Linked DNA regions of Homo sapiens: regions 1 and 3 are each linked to region 2. Evidence: promoter capture Hi-C in human tissues and cell types (Jung and others, 2019). All regions are on one chromosome and are shown on one strand. Each heading gives the region's core, a stretch centred on a gene start or on the middle of the fragment in contact. The rest is flanking DNA. Distances are from core to core; before and after follow the strand shown. Region 1 has its middle 69 kb from the start of PIP4K2A. Region 2 holds the start of ARMC3 (armadillo repeat containing 3). Region 3 has its middle 41 kb from the start of PIP4K2A.

Region 1 (2,866 bases), core at 75-2,574, 140 kb before region 2:
GACGTAAGTCCTTTATTTTCTAATCTGTGTTTTGCCTTTTCACTTTCTTAACTGTATTATTTTTTGAGACCCCTCCCCATCCTTTGGTAACTGCTTGCTATTCTACTCTCTACTTCTATGATAACAACATTTTAGATTCCACCTATGAGTGAGATCATATAGTACTTGCCTTTCTGTGCCTGGCTTATTTCACTTAACATACGGTGGAAGAGACTGGGTGCAGTGGCTCATGCCTGTAATCCCAGCACTTTGGGAGGCCGAGGTGGGCTGATCACTTGAGGTCAGAAGTTCAATACCAGCCTGGCCAACATGGTGAAACCCCATCTGTACTAAAAAAATTACAAAAATTAGCCAGGCTTGGTGGCGGGTGCCTGTAATCCCAGCTACTCGGGAGGCTGAAGCAGGAGAGTTGCTTGAACCTGGGAGGTGGAGGTTGCAGTGATCCAAGATCACGACACTACTACAGCCTGGGTGACAGAGTGAGACTCTGTCTAAAAAACAACAACAACAACAACAAAAATAAGGTGGAAGAGTAGAAGTTTCACATTTTGATGATATCTCCAATGTGCTAATTTTTTAATGCATGGTTTGTACACTTTTTGTCCCATCTAAGAAATCTTTGCCCCAATCACAAAGGTTTTCCCTCCTGTTTTGTTGAAGTTTTATGGTTTCAGATTTTCCATTTAGGTCTAGAATACATTTTGTGTCAATTTTTCTAGAATACATTTTGTGTCAGACATTGAGGGCATTTTTGGGCACGGTGGCTCATGCCTGTAATCCCAGCACTTTGGGAAGCTGAGGTGGATCACTTGAGGCCAGGAGTTGGAGACCAGCCTGGGCAACATAGGGAGACCCCTTACAAAAGACTAAAACATCAGCCGGGTGTGGCAGCACATACCTGTAGCCCCAGCTACGCAGGAGGCTGAGCCCAAGGGGTTGAGACTGCAGCGAGCCGTGATCATGCCACTGAACTCTAGCCTAGGTAACAGAGCAAGACCCTGTCTAAAAAAAAAAAAAAAAAAAGAAAGAGAGAGAGAGACAGAGAGAGAAGGAAAAAGAAAGGAAGGAAGGAAGGAAGGAAGAAAGAATCACCTTTTCCCTTTTGATATCTTGGTACTTTTATTGAAAACTGAAAACCAATTGACTATTTATGCGTGGGCCTATTTTTGAACTCTCAGTTTCATGGATCTATATGTCTGTCCTTATGCTAACATCCCACTGTCTTATTTTAGCTTTATAGTAAGCCTTGAAATTGACCAGTGATTGTTCTTTTTTTTTCTCCAAAATTATTTTGCTTATTCTAGGATTCTGCATTTCTACATAAATTTCTTTTTTCTCTTTTTTTGAGATGGAATCTCGCTCCATCACCCGGGCTGGAGTGCAGTGGTGCTATCTCAGCTCACTGCAACCTTTGCCTCTTGGGTTCAAGAGTTTCTCCTGCCTGTCTCCTGAGTAGCTGGGATTACAGGAGCGCACCACCACACCTGGTTAATTTTTGTATTTTTAGGGGTTTCACCATGTTGGCCAGGCTGGTCTCGAACTCCTGACCTCAGGTGATCTGCCTGTTTTGGCCTCCCAAAGTGCTAGGATTACAGGCGTGACCCACTGCGCCCCGCCTGCAATTCTATATAAATTTCTACATAAAAAATTCGCTTGATTTTGATTGAGACAGCACTGACTCACAATTTAGGGAGAATTGACATCTTAACAATACCAAGTCAACTGAACTATGAACATGTGTGTCTCACTATTTATTGAGATATTCTTTAATTTATCTCAGCAAAGTCTTGGACTTTTCTCTGTGCAGTTGCCCAACCTTATCTGCAGAGGACACGTTCCAATAACCCCAGCTATGCCTCAAACTGTGGAGAGTACTGACCCCTATATATCCTATGTTTTTTTAATATCTACTTACCTATGATAAAGTTTAATTTATAAATTTGGCATAGTAAGAGAGTAACAATAACTAATAATAAAGCAGAAGAATTATAACAAACTGTAATAAAAGTTGTGTGAATGTGGTCTCTCAAAATATCTTCATATTTTTGGATTGTAGTTGACTGTAGATAACTGAAAACTGCTGAAAAGGAAAAGACTGATTTGGTTACTATACATACCATCATTATTTTGTTATGTTTATTCCTAAATAAATCATGTTTTGTGATGCCATTTTAAACATATTGTTAAAATGTAAATTTCCGATTGTTTGTTGCTACCATATAGAAATATAATTGATTTGTGTATGTTGACCTTGTATCCTGTGACGTTGTTTAAATTTGCTTCTTAGCTGTGGTTACTTTTTGGTAGATTCCTTTGGATTTTCTGTATCAACAGGCACATTGCTGGTGCATAGTGACAGTTTTACATATACATTTCCAAAGATAGGAATTTTATTTTGGTTTCTTGCCTTATAACATTAACTGGAAACACGCACTGAATAGAAGTGACAAGAGGGAACATCTTGCCTTCTTCCCGATCTTAGGAGAAAATAATTCAGTTTTAAATTATGGCATTAGCTGTAGGTTTTTGGTGGATTTCCTCTATCACATTGAGAAAGTTTTCTCCTATTTCTAGTTTGCTAAGGGCTTTTTGTTTGTTTGTTTTAAATCATGAATGGGTATTGAAATTTGTCAAATGCTTTTCTGCACCTTTTAAGATGAAACTATATGAATCATACAGTTTCTCCTTTTTAGTCTGCTAGTATGATGAATTATATTTATTGATTTTTGCATGTTGACTCAATATTACATTTCTAGGATAAACCCCACTTGTTCATGATGTATTCTTTTATTATATGTAGCTGGATTTGATTTACTGAAATTCTGTTAAGGATTTTTGTGTCTGTGTTCATAAGAAATATTGGTCT
Region 2 (2,788 bases), core at 272-2,771:
TATTTGTTTTTGCTTTTTAGATGAGGCATGGGAGGGGCTTCAACATAATTATATACCAACAGGAAAAAACGTGGAAGACAGGGAGAGGCTGAAAATACAGGTGTATATTATTCAAGGTCCAATCATATAACACTTGATGACGCTTATATTCTTGAAACTCCCTCCTTAGTTTCCTTGATGCTACTTGGTCTTAATCCTTTTCCTACTTTCATGACCATTACTTAAGATCTTTTCTATACAGAAGTCACACCGGATATTTGACCATGGAAAACTGAATACAAATAATTGTTATAAAGCTGTTTATCAGGCAATTTAAATGGTGAGAAGAGAACATAAGATATATAAAAGTAGCAATTATAAGAAGCATCTATCATTCTTAGGACTGGGAGACCAACAGGGGCCGGTAGGAGACGGAATTTGCAAAGTCTAAGAGGAGAGGGAGAGACTTTTTGCTAAAGGCAATCAAAAAATATTTTATGAAGATGGCATTTGAGCTGGGCTTAATTAAGTGGAAATGAGAGAATATTTCAGGTATTGCACATGACCTGGGAAATAGAAGCTACTTTATAAATATTTGTTGAAAAATGAAGTGATGAACAGATAAGCAAGAAAATCTAGAGAAAAGTGTGGAAAATTTCGGGAACAGTAAGTTTGGCTGGAGCTTGGATGGTGGAGATCGGTTGAAAATGTGGTTGCACAGATGGAGTAGAGATGGAGCAGACGGTCTTAAATTCCAGGCCAATGTGTTGAAAATTTATCTTAGGAAGCCGCTGACATTTGAGTAGGGAAGTGACAAGACTGGAACGATGATTTCTGGATGGCCGATTTGCCTGTGATACGTAGAAAGAACTGTAAGCAGAGAGCAACTGAATTTCTCAGCCAGAAGGCCAAAAAATGACGAGCTGGATTGAAGTGACAATAAGGATATGAGAAAGGGAACAAGCAGGAAACAAAATGTAAGCCGCCAAGAAGTGGCTGAAGTGATGACTGTGGTTGGGGGGCATGGGAGGAAGAAGGGAAATTGAAGCTCCTTCTGAGTCTAGGCAATTGGAAGAATGGCAGGAAGAGGAAAGAAAGAGGAAGAGAACGGGGCTTTGAAGGGCCATGAGAAGTTCTGTGGAAACGGATTGGACATCCTAGTGCAAAGAGATGTGGCAGTGCAGGTCTGCAGCTTAACGGAGCCTGGGCAGGAGGTGGCTGATGTGGGTTTCATCTGCATAGAGATTCCGGCTGACGCCTCTATTTGGAAGAATGCAATAGTATTTGCGTATTTGAACCCACAGCCAGTCCTTGGGCCAGAAACTGAGGCTGAACTGCCTCTTGATTTACAGCTTCCACCCCCAGTTTCCATTCTCCCCTAAAGCACTGGATTCAGGTAATCGCGGACGCACTTGGCTCCTCCCGCACTGGCCGCTGCCCTCGGCGGGACAATGGGCGCCCTAGCAGCCCCGAGCGTTCCCAGGGCGCAGGCGCGGCGCGGCGTGGCGTCGCCTAGCAACGAGGCACAACAAGGGACTGGGGGTTCGTCTGCTGGGTTTGCGGAGCAGCTAGCTACTCGGCGGGATCTCCCGGCAGGTAAAGGTAACCCCGTGGGGTGGGGAGGCCCAAGGCAGAGGCCTGAGGAAAACCTGGGAAAGGAGAAGGTGCCACGTGGGCGCAGACTGCTTGGGTCAGTGAGGCAACACCTTGCTGGGCGTTGTTAGTTTCTGCCTCGCGCCCGCAGGGTTAGACGGGGCTTGGGGTGGGTTTCGTAAGCATCCCGCCACCTCCCATTCAACAGGTGACAAAACTGAGGCCCGAGAGGGGATCTGAGGTGAGATCAAGTCAGATTCCGTTACTTGACTGTGAGCAACTCAGAAGTGGCCTCGATTTCTTGAGCCCTCCTCCTCTTTAAATCTTCTCAAAGCAGAACTCATTAGAAAATATTTAAAATCATAGGCTGAACGTTCACGAAGAACAAATACAAAGGACCAATCAACTCGTGAAAAAAAAAATGGCTCCAGTAGTCAAGAAGATGCATTTTTAGAGCAGAGTTGTTTGCATATCCAATGCCCTGAAGTTTTCACCCAGTTAATTTACTGCTAGAGATTTATCCTAAAGAAATAGTTGGGGATAATGGATGAAAATTTTATGTCCAAGGACGTTCTTTCAGCCCTGTCCATATTTCCAGAAAATTAGAAACAAATTTCAACAATCAGAGACTGGCTAGATAGCTAAGGGATTTTAAAATATTTGTAATGGCATGTTATGCTAATCCACTGGAGATTATTAAAGCAATGAAGGGAAACTGAGACTTCATGAATTTATTTGTTAATATAAGAATTTAGTAGGAATATGAACCCAGGAAGGGAAGGTGAAAGTAGGGGATAGAAGTTGAGGCAGGATGTTAAAATCACTTTAGAAAAACACACAAAGCCAGGTACGGTGGCTCACGCCTACAACCCCAGCACTTTGGGAGGCTGAGGCGGGTGGATCGCCTGAAGTCAGGAGTTCGAGACCAACCTGGTCAATGTGGGGAAACCTGTCTCTACTGAAAATACAAAAATTAGCCGAGCGTGGTGGCGGGTACCTGTAATCCCAGCTACTCAGGAGGCTGAGGCAGGAGAATCTCTTAAACCTGGGAGGTGGAGGTTGCAATGAGCCAAGATCAGGCCACTCTCCAGCCTGGGCAACAGAGTGAGACTCTGTCTCAAAAAAGAAAAAGAAAAAGAAAAAAAGAGAAGAGAGAGAGAGAGGGAGAGAGAGAGAGAGAAAGAGAGAGAGAAAGAGAAAGAAAAAGAAAAAGAAA
Region 3 (2,763 bases), core at 9-2,508, 170 kb before region 2:
CTGCCCCATCATGCATCAATTTACATGAAATAATAGGATGTAACTTTATATAATGGGCGAAAATGAAATTATCAACTGAATTAGCATTCATGCTCGGTTCTATTCCTCTAGAACTGCGAGGAGTAGGGTACTGCTATTGGTTTTACATGCCAGCAACATCCTTCTTAAATGGTTCCCTTCTAATGTGGCTTCTTGAAGATGGATGGATTTCTGATCCAAGGCCCCTAGTAGTAACCCTTAACATTGATCGGTTCATTCAAAAGTTACGTCATCACAAGCCAGTGTGGTGGTGCGTACCTGTAGACCCAGGGTCTTGGGAGGCTGAGGTGGAGGATGGCTTGATCCCAGGAGCTTGAGGGCAGCCTGGGGAACGTAGAAAGACCTCATCTCTAAAATCATTAAGAATTAAATTAAAATTTAAAAAGTTGTGTCATCGCAGTGGTCAAGCTTCAGATAATTTATGTTTGCAGAGTATATAAAGGTATCCAAAAAGTCCTTCATTTATATGCATAACTTTTTTTTTTAAAATAAAGAGTCAGGGTCTTGCTCTGTCACTCAGGCTGAAGTGCAGTGGTGCGATCCTAGCTCACTGTAACCTTGAATTCCTGGTCTCAAGAAATCCTCCTGCTTCAGCCTCCTGAGTAGTTGGAACTCCAGGCATATGCCACCACACCTGGCTAGTTTCAGTAATTTTTGTGAATATGGGATCTCACTATGTTACGCAAGCTGGTCTCAAACTCCTGGCCTCAAGTGATCTCCCCACGTTGGTCTCCCAAAGTGCTGGGATTACAGATGCCCGCCCTACCTAAACATTTTCATATTTAAATACATTTTACACTTGAAAAATATTGAGTTTAAACAATATTATTTTTAAATACACTGAAGTGGTGGTTCTTCAGCCCTCTGAAAGGTTGTATAAATGTCTAGTTTCATAGCTGTCATCAGAATCTCAAAGGGTCCCATAATTCAAACAAAGGTAAAGAACCATTAATTTGGATGATCAATGTGTCATTTAACCAACTCACCGAGGTTGCTGATTTTTGTCTGTGTCCTATTTTGGATGCATTTCCTCATTGATTTTCTTTCATTTATGGCTTAAAAGACTTCCATTGACAGGATCTTCTCACATCACATTCCATTATATGCTGTTGATGGATTTGGGACCATAACTGAGTAAAAGGCAGGCCACAGACAGAACAGATTTTCATATTAACACAAGATGACTTCTGTTGTAGAATTGTGAGCTTTAGAATTAACAGACTAGAGTTCAGCTCTGTGGCAAAGGTTACTTGCAATCTATTCTGTAATTTCATTGAGTGTCAGTTTCCTGATCTGTATATTGGGAAAGGGCATCTACTTCATGGAGTTGTCATGAGGATGACACAAGATAAATATGTAAAGGGCCTACCCACTGCAGATCAGGGCACCTCAGAGACACCCAAGAACTTCTCCTCCCTTCTCTTTTTTTTTTTTTTTCGATGGGGTCTTGCTGTTGCCCAGGCTGGAGTACAGTGGCACGATCTTGGCTCACTGCAACCTCCACCTCCTGGATTCAAGTGATTCTCCTGCCTCAGCCTCCTGAGTAGCCAGGATTACAGGTGTGCAGCACCACACCCAGCTAATTTTTATATTTTTAGTAGAGATGGGGTTTCGCCATGTTGGCCAGCTGGTCTCGAACTCTTGACCTCAGGTGATCCTCCCACCTTGGCCTCCCAAAGTCCTGGGATTACAGGCATGAGCCACCTTGCCCGGCCTCCTCCCTTCTTTGCACAATACAGACTATTGGACTTGGTGGTGAAGCTACACTAGAGGCAAAGTCTCCACCCCAATGGTATTTGTGATATTTACCTATGGGTTGATCTTCTATTTTTAGGTCCAGAATGAAAATCCTTCAGATTTCAACTCTTACACTAACAAAACTTTCATTCTGCAACATTACCTTTTTTTTTTCTTCATTCCATCTCTTCTGTTGTACTCCTTACCTTCCTCACTTTCAGCAAATCCTGCCACTTTTTCCATTAACCACAGGAAGAGTCAATTCACAGTAATCTCACTGCCTCCAAGGACCTAAGAGAAAAAAAGCTATCAAAGGGACAAATAAATATAATATGTTTAAAGCATGACAATAAATTACATAACTTCATCTCAAATCTTGCTCTGTGGGAAGGTTGATATGAATCGTTTGAAGAAACATGAAACAGATCCTAAAGACAGGCGATTTTTCATAGTGAAATGCAATTTTTTTTCAAGCTTCAAAGCAAAGGTTCCTTTTGTCATCTGCTTGATAGGTTATTTTTGACAGGATTTAACTTATTAAATTGTTCTCCTGCCCTTTCAAACGGTCTGGGCATAGGAGCTTGCTAGGGAAAATGATGAATGTTTGTTCTTAATTGAAATTTTGAAATAACCATGTGGCAAAGCATAGTGAATGCATTTGCTCTTCTGCAAAAGTTTCAAAAATGAGTGCCTTGTGTAGCACCACACTGATACTCAATAAGCAATACTAGGGTGATCTGAGGAATGAGTTAGAATAATCTGCTTTCTGGACCAGTATTTTTATAAAAGTGTTCTTTGTAGCTGTGATTAATCAAACTCTTCAAAGATTCTTTCTGTAATTTAGACATAATTCTTTCTTATTGATTAAGAACTATACCACATTATACCAATAAAAAGCGTGAATATGCCCATGAAAATTATTACATAATTATTTATACTAATAGAGAAACCTAATTTTTTGTTGGCTAACAAAAAGTTGCTGAATTT

What was found. The method cuts DNA at HindIII sites, captures the fragments that hold promoters and counts their contacts. A contact is called where the count stands out against the background at its distance.
Region 1: a contact is called between a fragment that was not itself captured here and the fragment with the promoter of ARMC3 in region 2, in 1 of the 25 tissues and cell types used here (dorsolateral prefrontal cortex).
Region 3: a fragment that was not itself captured here is called in contact with the fragment with the promoter of ARMC3 in region 2 in 2 of the 25 tissues and cell types used here (hippocampus and mesenchymal stem cells).

Annotation. Positions count from the first base shown.
Region 1 is chr10:22,782,196-22,785,061 of GRCh38, forward strand. No RefSeq gene overlaps it. Among named protein-coding and RNA genes, the nearest start is that of PIP4K2A, 69 kb to the left of the region's middle. The HindIII fragment of the contact is 7,571 bases long and covers 1-2,866 here.
Region 2 is chr10:22,926,532-22,929,319 of GRCh38, forward strand. ARMC3 (armadillo repeat containing 3) reads left to right here and starts at 1,522. Exons shown (of 19, transcript NM_173081.5): 1 at 1,522-1,575. The HindIII fragment of the contact is 8,735 bases long and covers 1-2,788 here.
Region 3 is chr10:22,754,585-22,757,347 of GRCh38, forward strand. No RefSeq gene overlaps it. Among named protein-coding and RNA genes, the nearest start is that of PIP4K2A, 41 kb to the left of the region's middle. The HindIII fragment of the contact is 5,778 bases long and covers 1-2,763 here.